Regions from separate parts of the Homo sapiens genome. Here regions 1 and 2 are each linked to region 3. The links are contacts of gene promoters, found by promoter capture Hi-C in blood cells and fetal thymus (Javierre and others, 2016). All regions are on one chromosome and are shown on one strand. Each heading gives the region's core, a stretch centred on a gene start or on the middle of the fragment in contact. The rest is flanking DNA. Distances are from core to core; before and after follow the strand shown. Region 1 holds the start of OR52E2 (olfactory receptor family 52 subfamily E member 2). Region 2 overlaps OR51L1 (olfactory receptor family 51 subfamily L member 1). Region 3 holds the start of OR51E2 (olfactory receptor family 51 subfamily E member 2).

Region 1 (4,555 bases), core at 367-2,866, 360 kb before region 3:
AACCTCTCTAATCTTGAGTAAGGCATTTTTCTATGGAACAGTAAAAGCTTTCCATGGTCAGAAATGCTCTGAAAATACTCCCCCATCAAATATTACAAGCAAGGTGCATGAAGACAGATTAGATGAATTTAGGTAACTTTGAAATGATTGAGACTGGGTGCAGTGGCTCACTCCTGTAATCCCGGCATTTTGGGAGGCAGAGGTGGTCAGATCACTTGAGGCCAGGAGTTCAAGACCAGCCTGGACAACATGGAGAAACCCCGTCTCTACTAAAGATATAAAAAATTAGCCAGGTATGATGGCCCGTGCATGTAATCTCAGTTTCTCTGGAGGCTGAGGCAGGAGAATCCCTTGAACCTGGGAGGCAGAGGTTGCAGTGAGCTGAGATTGTGCCACTGCACTCCAATCAGGGTGACAAAGTGTGACTCTGTCTCAAATAATAAAATATAAATAAATAAATAACATGATTGCATTATCATAAATCTAATATTATAAGGCTCCTGTTTTTTCTCACTAGTTTTTAATTAAACATTTGACATATATCTTAAATTCCTGAAGTCATGATTGCCTCAGCTTTGAGCTAGAGATACTAACGTGTTATTCAGATGGATGTTGTGAGTTTTGAAAAAAATATGTATTTGTCTAACCTGTGTGTAATATTATGCATGTGTGTGTGTATTTTATCCGGTGTGAATAACACAGATAAGTCATACATTACACTTTTGTTTCCTTCTATTTTCCTTCTATGTAAATTCACTACTTTTATCCCTAGCTTAATTTCCCAGATCATCCATTAGAAGCATTTTAAACATCTGACAAGCCTCTTAAACTCATTGATCGCTTACATGGAAAATATGAAAAATTAATATTCTCCTTGAAGGGTGTTCTTTTTATAAATTGGAGATGATTTGCACATAACAAAGCTTTGCAAATAGTAGGCAGTACTTCAATAATTGGTAGTTGATGCGACTGTTTTCACTGTTATTCTGTATTTTATTTTACAGTAATAATGAGTAAATATTTTTAAATGGACAGTTTTAAACCTTTAAGTGATTTTTAGTATATTTTGGCATAAATTTTGATCAGTCTGTGTGTTTATTGAATAGAGTGTACCCACCCTCTGTGTTAATCCATATGTGTTATCATTCAATCAACTGGAATTAATTTCCACCACTACATTTAAGGGCTAGGAAAACCCTACCTTGTTCAAAATTCAAAGGGGTTCTTTGGTGATGATGGTAATAATGAGAGAGAATAGCTAAAGTAAAAAGTATTCAGGCAAATCTTAGCATAATATTGGCAGTGAGGTTATATTGATAGGGTTTAGGTAGAGTAGAATGCTAGCAAAGTTGAAAGTATCACGTAGAACATTTTATTTTAATTTACTGTATAAATTCATCTAAGAATTTATCCCTGAGATGTTTGTTACTTACCTAAAGTGCTCTGTATACAGTATGTTTCAAAGTGATAGAATTTCCTGCAAAAAATCATGTGCACAAATGTATGTTTCTTATATTAAATTTTTGTCTCCGAACTGCAGAAGCCTGTGTGGTTACATGCAGATTGGGTGAGCATACATTTCTGTAGACTGTGGACTTATGCATTCACAAGCAGGATGTTCCTTCCCAATGACACCCAGTTTCACCCCTCCTCCTTCCTGTTGCTGGGGATCCCAGGACTAGAAACACTTCACATCTGGATCGGCTTTCCCTTCTGTGCTGTGTACATGATCGCACTCATAGGGAACTTCACTATTCTACTTGTGATCAAGACTGACAGCAGCCTACACCAGCCCATGTTCTACTTCCTGGCCATGTTGGCCACCACTGATGTGGGTCTCTCAACAGCTACCATCCCTAAGATGCTTGGAATCTTCTGGATCAACCTCAGAGGGATCATCTTTGAAGCCTGCCTCACCCAGATGTTTTTTATCCACAACTTCACACTTATGGAGTCAGCAGTCCTTGTGGCAATGGCTTATGACAGCTATGTGGCCATCTGCAATCCACTCCAATATAGCGCCATCCTCACCAACAAGGTTGTTTCTGTGATTGGTCTTGGTGTGTTTGTGAGGGCTTTAATTTTCGTCATTCCCTCTATACTTCTTATATTGCGGTTGCCCTTCTGTGGGAATCATGTAATTCCCCACACCTACTGTGAGCACATGGGTCTTGCTCATCTATCTTGTGCCAGCATCAAAATCAATATTATTTATGGTTTATGTGCCATTTGTAATCTAGTGTTTGACATCACAGTCATTGCCCTTTCTTATGTGCATATTCTTTGTGCTGTTTTCCGTCTTCCTACTCATGAAGCCCGACTCAAGTCCCTCAGCACATGTGGTTCACATGTGTGTGTAATCCTTGCCTTCTATACACCAGCCCTCTTTTCCTTTATGACTCATCGCTTTGGCCGAAATGTGCCCCGCTATATCCATATACTCCTAGCCAATCTCTATGTTGTGGTGCCACCAATGCTCAATCCTGTCATATATGGAGTCAGAACCAAGCAGATCTATAAATGTGTGAAGAAAATATTATTGCAGGAACAAGGAATGGAAAAGGAAGAGTACCTAATACATACGAGGTTCTGAATGCAATTTTATGAAATTTCAGTGAGAGAAATGTCTTGTCATAAAAATTATATTCTAATATGTGGCTTTATTGGCTCTCTTCTGTATTTAAATACATTGAATTTCTCCATCTGCTTTTCATACCACATTTTGAGATCTGTTGCTGCATTTTTTTTTTTTTTTTTTGAGACAGAGTCTTGCTCTGTTGCCCAGGCTGGAGAGCAGTGGCATGATCTCAGCTCACTGTAACCTCTGTCCCTGGGGTTCAAGTGATTCTCCTGCCTCAGCCTGCCAAGTAGCTGAGACTATGGGCATGCACCACCATGGCCTGGCTAATTTTTGTTTTTTAGTAGAGATGGGGTTTTACCATATTGCTGCATTCTTGTTCTCTCTATTCAATACTCTTATAATTTCATTTAAGCAGGTAATGTTATTTTTCTCTATTATTTGGAATAGCTGGTTGAAGTGTTTATATCAGATATGAATGCACCCATTTTTGCTGGGTAATTGATGTTTCATGGAGCTGCTTCTTACAATACAATTATAATAATTTTCTGAGTGTCAACTTTTATAACTGTAGGATGCTGGAGATAAAATTTTGACTATGTCACCTTCCCTTACTTTGTGGAATTTATAGAGTCTAAAATTAATGAGCAACTTCAACTTTGAAATGTCCATACTTTTTGTTTTAATTGTTCTATATCATTATAATTTATGTTTATCTTCCCTTAAGAGACACAGCGATTTAATGGTAATGGGGTATCCTAAATGGGATGCTGGATTAGAAAAAGGACATTGGCTAAAAAGTAAGAAAATCTTAATAAAGTATGAGCTTTAGCAATAAATATGTATCAATTACCTGCTTCATTAATTTTGGAAAATAGACTACACTAATATAAGATGTTTACAATAAGGGGAATTAAATGTGGGATATATGGGAACTATCTGCAATATCCTCACGAATTACTGTTATATCTAAAATTATTCTAAAACAAAAGAGGTATTTTTCAAAATCACAATGAATAAATAGGTCCTTTGGGGAAGAACCTATTTTTAAAAAGTCTTGAGTCTCCCTGTCAATGAACTTAGTATACAAATGCATTGATTTTAATTCATACTTAATATAATTTAATAAGGTTTTATACTTTACTAAAAAATAAAAGTCCAACCATTAGCAAAACTTTCTTCTATTATGGAAACCATCTTGGGGCGGAAAAACACCAAGATTTTAGAGTAAGAATAATAAGCTGAGAAAAAATTAGCTCTAAATTTATCTCTCATTCTTCATTTCACCGTAATTCCCCCAAATATTTTTTATATCTTTGTTGAGAGAAAAATTGAAATTATATGTCCTAGTAGAATTTTTAAAATTAGAATTTAATTTCACACAACTGGATTAATTTTATTATTCGAAATAGTTGTTTCATAATGCATTTTGTTTATTTCATTCTAAACCATCTTTGACTGTATTCGTATATCTGCTTGTCTATGTTTTGTATGTCCCTTTCCAATGACACTCAATTCCTCCCATCCTGATCACTCATTACACTTTTTGTCAGCCTGTTTCCACTTCTTTTCCCTGAAACTGAAATTATAAACCAGGAGCATAATTCCTTAATGCTTTCCCCACATGTACTAACAGCAATTGATGCCTGCTGGTGAATTAATAGTTCAACCGGAAACATACATATCACAATAGCACACACACACGAACACGCATGCAAGTTACTGTTTCTTCTTCATGATTATATTTAATATGGCTAAATGAGCTCTAGAGATTATTAGCTACCACATATGAAAGGACAAATGTTTAAACTCACTATGTCTGAACAACAATCCTCCCAGGTTTTGATATACTGATCTCCAAAGCGGGCTGCATACAAACTCAGTCGATACACAGGATGTTAATATTTTATTTTCTTCATGTATGTATTTAAGTGACCAGTAACTCAAAAATATGCATCAATTAACCAAAGTATTAAT
Region 2 (4,091 bases), core at 1,003-3,502, 300 kb before region 3:
GGAAGTACAACTCCCAAGCTTCGTAGCAAACAGGCCAAACCAATTTTGCCAATTACACTGTTGGTGAGGATGGTGGGGTAGTGCAGTGGATGGCAGATAGCAACAAAACGGTCAAAGGCCATGGCCAGCAACACTGAGGACTCCAGGAATGTGAATGTGTGGATGAAGAACAGCTGAGCATAGCAAGCACTTGCCTGGATCTCTGGAGCATCCAACCATAACACAGCAAGCATGGTGGGAAGTGTAGACAGGGACATCCCCAGGTCATTCACTGCTAAGATGGAAATAAAGTAATACATGGGCTGATGGAGAGAGGATTCTATCCAAATGACAGACAGGATGGTAACATTACCCATAAATGCTACCAAATATGCAAGACAGAAGAGGATGGAGAGCCAAGAATGAACATACTCCAGTCCAGGAAAACCCCTCAGGATAAATATGGGCTCCACAGCATCACTGTTATTCCAGTCTCCCATAGTGACTTTGAGTAATTCAGCAAGTAGTGAGGAATGGTTCGTGTTTTCCTTCCTGATCCCTCAAAGTTATCTCTTTTGAGTACAAATAATGGAATGAGGACAAAAATACATCTTTCGTCTAACCTCACAGAGGAAGGAAGCTGGTATCTCTTGTCGGCCCTATGTAAAAAACATTTCCCAATATTAAGGAGCACAAATTCTGGAACAAAAATGTGGACTACACAAATATGGTCATCTCTGGCAAGAAATACGTTGGATTTGCATCAAAGACACTAAAGAATTTAAGCAACGTGAGAATAGAGAAAAAAGAACTTTTACTAATTATTATAAAGATGAAAATAGAGAAAAGTCAGAGTGAATGTCGATGGATTTGTATGAGTTTCTGGCCAATGTTCTTGAGTTAATCAGTTATTGCTTCTAGGCTATCTTTTCATTCATGACAATCGAATTGATCCCATGGACTCAACATAATTTCTATTCAGCTGCATTTTTATTTAAAGATTTATAATATTTAAACATTTTAAATATTTAATATTTTAATAATACAAGATAAATACCCCTATATGAAAAGAGAGCATGAACATAAGAAACAGAATCCATAATACCAGAATCCATAATCCCAGCATGCTTTATTGAGCTGCTATTTAACCAACACAGTTTTGAGCTGTTTAGTATAGCAACTATTCCTGACCTAAAAAAAAATTCACGGTAAAAAAACTATATATATAGTGTGTGAGTGTATATGCGTGTGTGTGTGTGTGTGTGTGTGTGTGTGTGTGTGTGTGTGTTTGTGAAATAAGAGTTTAAATAGTTTGAAAATAAATCTTTAGGCCATAACATCACAATATAACTACGAAAGTCCATTAAAGACATTTCCCTTTCTGCTCTTCCACAAAATGAGAACAATGCATTTAACAGTTATCTATTACATGTTTTCAGTAAAAGAGGTACTTTTCCACTTTATTTCTATTGATTTTTTTGATTGATTGATTTCTGTTTCCAAACGATGCTTTTAATATCATTTTTAAAAGATCATCAATCAAAATATTAAGTGGTTCTTAATTTTCTGACCCACTTGCACCTACTTCTGTGAACTCATGACAATCCAGAATTTAGGCCTTAAATATTCACTATCAGTGCCTCTTAGAAACAACCAAGCTCTTCTGAGTGTTTCAAAATATGATATTAACATCTGGCTTTACTTTCCCTCAGCAATTGTTATTGTAATAGCCTCCTTGCCTGTGCTGAACCAGTGTTGCCCTTGCTGTATCATACTGTGTTGATGGCACTTGGTACAGCAGCTGAGCATTATGAGATTATCTGCCCCTTCTGTTACCTAGGTCTTTATTTTAACCCTGTCTAGTTCCATTAACTGCCCCTGAGAAAATTATTTACTTACCTTGTCCCTTAGAGTCTGGGCCTCATAGACTTCAGCAACATCTCTCTGTAGCAACATCTCAGTAATTCCCTCAACCCTCCTTCTGGACCCTTAGTCTCTGACCTTTTGAAAGATTAAGATAAGACTTAGCCTCATCCTAGAGTAAAAATATTTCCAAATGTGGTCTCAAACTCGTATCACAAGGCTCCAGCTAGCTAGCTGTTTCTTTTTATTATCTCCATTATATTTAATAAAAAGCTTTATTTTAAAAATCCCTTGACTGATTCTTATCTCACTTTCATACCGTGAAGACTGAAAGTTCTTAGATGGCACAACTTAGAATTCCAAAGAGGACTTGATTTAGAATCTGTATCTGAGGAACAAAAGAAAGCACAAAGCCCTCTTCTCCATGTAATGAGAAGGATTTGTCTCTTTTTCTACTTTTACCCAAGTACAGGAATCCTCCATCTTCTATGAGTCAGAACCTAACCTGGTACTCTTCTCTAGCCTAGGCAATGTGAATGAAGCTTTCATTTGAGACCCTCGTCTTAAATAAAGCAGTCAGCTACCCATCAAATTCTTCACACCCAGCAGAGTATGTGTTTAGAGCATTTATTTTTCTTCACCCCTAAGCAACATTTTTCTCTCCAGTCTTCCATATCACTAGCTGACTTTATTTTTTCTTTCTCCTCACTCAGAAAAATTTTTTGACCTCCTGTTGTACAGTTGAGCTCATAAAAATGATATAGGTATTAACATCGAAATAAAAAGAACACACACACACACAGAGTGAGAGAGAGGGAGGAGAGAAAGAAAGAAACAGAGAGAGAGAAATGAAAGAAAGAAAGAAAGAAAGAAAGAAAGAAAGAAAGAAAGAAAGAAAAGAAAAGAAAGGAAGGAAGGAAAAGAAAGAAAAAGAAAGAAAGAGAAAAAAAGAAAAAGAAAAGAAAACTGTGGCCACAGTGGAGAAGTAGTTTATTTTACCCCATGCCAGAAAAATATTCCATGTTTTCTCCTTTAATTCTTTCAGTCCTGAAATAAATCATATTTTCTTAAATTCTCACATAGAATGCAAAGAACAAAGTGGATCACTACTCTTTAGAATTCTCTTTCTCCCTGCTTTATGTGCAAGTCCCCTATGTGCAGATTGCGATGTTTAGAAAACTTCAGTTGTAGACTGGCCAATAGATTTGAGGTTAGGACAGGCAGGAATATTTCTGTTTGTAATCCCTATTAATTTTTAACTGTGTATATTTAAGGTATACAGAATGATGTTTATATATATATATGCATATACATAGACATATACATAGTGAAATGGTCATTACTATGTGCCTGTGTGTGTGTGTGTGCATGCACACACGTGCATGTGTATGCTAAGAACACCTAAGCTCTACTCTCTTGGCAAATTTTCGGTATACAATTTCTGTGGTTTTAATTCTTGCTCATATTGGTTTATCCCTCACTTAAAAAGAGTCCCCATTTCTACAATATTATTAACTCACTGCTTTATCTCATTGATTTATCCCTCACCTGAAAAGAGTTCCCATTCTACAATATTATGAACTGTGGTCATGCTGTATATTAGATCTCTAGACTTATTCTTCCTACATAACTGCAAGTTTGTATGCTTTGAGCTACTTTTCCGCATTTCCTCCACTACCCGGGCCCCCTAAGCCCCTTTCCCGTTTCTATTTCTGTGTGTACTTTCCCTTTCTTATCCTCTCACTGCCATATCTGTCATGTCTTTCACTTTTTAAAATCCATTTATTGTCTTTTCTCTATTCATTTTCTTTTGACTCTATTTCTGGGTCACTGACAATGATTCTTTGTGGTTCTTTGTTGATTTTAGTACAACTTAATCACACTGAGGTCGAAAGAGAAATAATAGAAAAGAACTGGGAGTAATAACAAGACTGTTTCAAAGGGCAGAGGCATGAATAGGCTTATGTCACACATTCACCTATTCCAGGTAATTAAGGGAGAACTACTGAACATAAGACCATTTTTTTACAGCCTCTCTAGTATCAAAACCTATTCTCTGCTAATCAGCTTATCGCTTATCTTAAAATCGCTGAAAATAATTGGAACAAGACATTACAATACTGTAATAAATTTAATTTTTTTCACAGATGAGAATAATTCTTTTTCCTTTTGCATAAATGGTACATCATCTTTCTCATAATTTTACTCTCTTTAGCAAACTATATCCACATACAAAATGTGCTAAAATC
Region 3 (4,029 bases), core at 26-2,525:
AGATAATATCGGAAGCAGGGAGAATGGTTAGGAAACTACTGAAGTTACCCAAGTGAGAGATAATTGTGACTTAAATAAAGGTGACATTTCTGGAGATGATAAACAGTGATCAATTTCTGATTGTATTTTTCAAAGAGATTGACATAATTTACCAATGGATTAAATGCAGGGTGTAAGAGACAGAAACTGAGAATGAATCAAAGACCCATATGCCCAAGTGTGGTCCAAATTGGTGGGAATATCTAAGGATCTAAAGAGGCCATAAGGAGAAAAGATGGACAACTTATAGCAATCTATGCATTCTATTTATTAAAGACTAATGAGAGTGATAGTAAACTGACAGAAGGTGACATCATTGGCCAAGTCAATCACCCACCTACCTGCAATTTTTCTTGGTATAATACAAGATTTTCAAAATTTGACTATAAGTAGAGAGAACCCCAAATTATTGTGACTAATTCTCTTCAACCTGGTAGGTTGGGACTTCAAAATACGAAATAGGTCAAATTATAAAAAAGTAAATGAAACCGTATTTTATACACAAGTAAGTTGTGAACCAAGATTTTTACCTACTGTATTCACCAAGCATTTGGTTCATGCCTCTAGGATAACCTTATCATTGGTTAACATGTAATTATTGGTTAACCTGTCTATCTTCTACACTAAAATCCTAAACAGTAAGAATTATGGTGTATTCTTAAAAAAAAAAACTCTATCACTGAGTATAATGTTTAGAATATGGGACATTCTTATGAAATATTTACTGGATATATGTATGGATGAGTAAATGAATTATTTTTTATCTGTAAGAGAAAGACTGCTGCTGCAAAGAACCACAGGTGGGCTAATGAAACCATACTGCTGTGAATAATCATAGATACTGAGGAGTTAAGGGGTGGAGTTGGACTCTCACTCATAATGGGAGATGTCATTTAGCAATTTGCTACAATATTTCGTTTTTTAAAATCTCCTTCAGAGTGACTGCTAGTGATTATGAGGTTCCTTTTAAGGGTAATAAAAAATGTTCTAAAATTGAATTGTGATGATGGTTCTTGCACAGTTCTGTGACTTTACTAAAAAAAATTGAATCATACACTATAAATGGGTGAATTTTATAGTATGTGAATGATATAACAATAAAGCTGTTAAATAAAAAAGCTTTTGAGTGAAATGACACATGAAAAAAAGGTTACATCAGCCCATAAAGCACATAGCCACCGTAAGTAATTGCATAATGGAACAGATATAAAAGGACTGTATGAGGCAAAAGAAGTCTTCTGGGAATCTCCACACCCTGAAGACACAGTGAGTTAGCACCACCACCAGGAATTGGCCTTTCAGCTCTGTGCCTGTCTCCAGTCAGGCTGGAATAAGTCTCCTCATATTTGCAAGCTCGGCCCTCCCCTGGAATCTAAAGCCTCCTCAGCCTTCTGAGTCAGCCTGAAAGGAACAGGCCGAACTGCTGTATGGGCTCTGTAAGTAAAACTGTTTTGTTCAATGAAAATGCTTGACTCTAGATGAATTGGACTTTCTCACCCACAGGGAGTAATTTCCTCACAATGTGCAGAATTAGATTAGATGTTGGTATGGTGGGCTGAGGAGGACGGTAGAATTTCAGAATTATTTATTCCCAGGAAATACGTAGAGAATGGGTATTTCGTTCTGCCTGATATAGGTTAGATAACTTGTTTTTAGTCAAATGGTTTAATCAGTGTGCTGATATATTTATCACAGTCAGTGAATCTCATTTCTATGCCCAATAACTATTACTAAAAATGAAAAGTTACCAATTTCGAACGCATTGCCTGCCAGCTACTGGTATTAGACACAGCGCATATCCTGTCTTATAGATGAGGAAACTGGGTCACAGAAAGTTTATATTACTTGTAGATTTCAGTAAAACAATTGTTTTTGAGAGCACGAGCTTTGGAATTAAAAAGACCTGAGTTAAAAATTCAGCTCTGACTTTCACCAGTTGTATGTGATTTCAAATATGTTTCAGACTTCTGATACTCAGTGTCTTTACCAGAAAAATGAATTTAAAGTGAATCTAATAATACTTGTCACATGATGACATAGTAAGAATTAAAATAATGCTTATAAAGCACTGAGGACAATAATGTTCACAGAACACGTGTCCAGTAAATGGTAGCTATTTCTATGAGTAATATTTTTATTAATGGTGTAGATGGTCTCAAAACTAGTTAGTGTTTGAGCAAGAATCTGAACCCAGGTCAGTCACACATGATAGCCATACCATTGACAATAGCATGGAGAATACTGATGACACTATAAGGTCTAGTTCAGCAGATTAAGACAGCCACAAGCTATAGCTTATAATAGTGCAATGAAAGAGGAGCATCATTGTAATCCGAGTGGGCAGAAAAATTAGTTGAGAGAATATAGCTTATTTCACAAGAGAGAAAATGAAAGTATATATGGATTGGAGAGGATGGGTCGGAAAGATTCTAGAGTGAAGGCAGCACAAAAGAGAAGCTTGGGGGAAATTTAGTGCCTCCTTCTAAGGATATTCATTAGTCCCCCTCTTGTCTTGAATATAAACACTTAAGATTTTTTCAATGTAAGAAAAATGCAATGAAATAATAGCTGCAAATACCCACTACTAACAATTGCTTGGCCTTCTTATATAGACCTCCCGAGGTTCTCATCTTTTACATTTCAGGAGTAGAATCAGTTAAAAACTAATCTTTATATGTAAGGGATGAGAGAGAGAAAGAGGAGGGTATGTGTGTGCACACATGTGTGTGTGTGTGGTGGGTAGTAATTTTAATTCAATGATTTACTAGAGTTCGATGTCGTTTGCTGATAAATGAAGCAGGAGGAAGAGCCAGGTTTGGAGGGGACGAGAGAATGAGTTCCATTTGTCTCATATAGAAGTTGAAGTAACTGAGTGATGATGGGTAGAGATGTCCCTCAGGGGTAGCCACAGTATTTTATTTACTTTTTATTCACCACATGCAGCAAGGAGCTTTGTTCTCCAAAATGCTGTCAATTATTTTTCTAAATTACAGGTTTGATTGCTTCACTGTATTTTCATGTCTCATTACTACCTTTACGCTTAAAACCAGAAACTTTGCCACAGCGTTAAAGATTCTGCTAACTTTTAAAATACAGAACTCTGGAGATGCCATAATTAGATTGCAGATTTATGAGTCTTCTGGATATAAGTGCTATTTAAAGCCATGAGAATAACCAAGATATCTCAAGGAGAGCATATGAAAAGCAAGAAAAGAAGAGGTACTTCTTGGGAGAAAAGCAGACTCCTCTAGAATCCCACAATTTATAAGGCAGAGAACAAAACCATTGTTTAACAAACAGGAAAAAAAAAAACCTCACAGAATAACCATCACTGAAGCTAATGAAGGAGAAAGTTTCAAGGAGGAGGAGGTAAACATTGCTGAAAGTTGAGATGAGGGAGAGAAAAACAAATCTGAGATTAAACTTTTGGACTTGGCATGTAGAAAATCACGGGTGACATCATTTGGAGGATTTTCAGAGTCATTAGGGAAAGAATTCAGATTGTTACTGAAGGTGAAGGAATAATAAACAAAAGCAGACTGTTCTCCAAAGGAATTTTTATCCTTATAAAAGATACAGCAGGAAATTGAGAGAGAAACAGGGCTTATGTCTTGTATCCCTCACTATCAAAGCACAAGGCTAATTATGAAAACTATTCAATATATCCTGGTTGAAATGAATTGTTTGGAAATATCTATACAAAACTGTGGGAAGCTTTTATTGTTGAGTTAGAGTAAAACTTGAGTATTGCAGACTTCAAAAAAGCAACCAATGGCACTAAACAAGATACTAAAGAGGGAAAGGAATTTTGTTGGCATTAAATGAGAAGAGATGGAAAATGATTTATTTATTAAAAGCAAAGCTCCTTGCTTCCAGTGGTCAATAAAAGGTGAATAAAATGTTAGAAATGTCTGGCTCTTGATGCTCTGCAAAAATTTAAGTTCATTACACTGTCCATGGAATTCAAGATTTTCATGATTTGACCTCTGG

What was found. The method cuts DNA at HindIII sites, captures the fragments that hold promoters and counts their contacts. A CHiCAGO score of 5 or more calls a contact.
Region 1: a contact is called between the fragment with the promoter of OR52E2 here and the fragment with the promoter of OR51E2 in region 3, in 4 of 17 cell types (endothelial precursors, M1 macrophages, M2 macrophages and 1 more). The highest score is 5.6, in endothelial precursors.
Region 2: a fragment that was not itself captured here is called in contact with the fragment with the promoter of OR51E2 in region 3 in 2 of 17 cell types (megakaryocytes and erythroblasts); the score reaches 7.2 in megakaryocytes.

What each region holds. Positions count from the first base shown.
Region 1 is chr11:5,056,688-5,061,242 of GRCh38, reverse strand. It overlaps OR52E2 (olfactory receptor family 52 subfamily E member 2), which reads left to right and starts at 1,616. Exons shown (of 1, transcript NM_001005164.2): 1 at 1,616-2,593. The coding sequence starts at 1,616. The coding sequence ends at 2,593. The HindIII fragment of the contact is 5,080 bases long and covers 926-4,555 here.
Region 2 is chr11:4,995,371-4,999,461 of GRCh38, reverse strand. OR51L1 (olfactory receptor family 51 subfamily L member 1) reads right to left here. Exons shown (of 3, transcript NM_001004755.2): 2 at 1,879-1,980; 3 at 1-638. The coding sequence starts at 479. Among named protein-coding and RNA genes, the nearest start is that of OR51L1, 2.6 kb to the right of the region's middle. The HindIII fragment of the contact is 269 bases long and covers 2,118-2,386 here.
Region 3 is chr11:4,695,099-4,699,127 of GRCh38, reverse strand. It overlaps OR51E2 (olfactory receptor family 51 subfamily E member 2), which reads left to right and starts at 1,275. Exons shown (of 2, transcript NM_030774.4): 1 at 1,275-1,475. It overlaps OR51C1 (olfactory receptor family 51 subfamily C member 1), which reads left to right and starts at 1,275. Exons shown (of 2, transcript NM_001396051.1): 1 at 1,275-1,475. The coding sequence starts at 1,467. The HindIII fragment of the contact is 1,338 bases long and covers 1,161-2,498 here.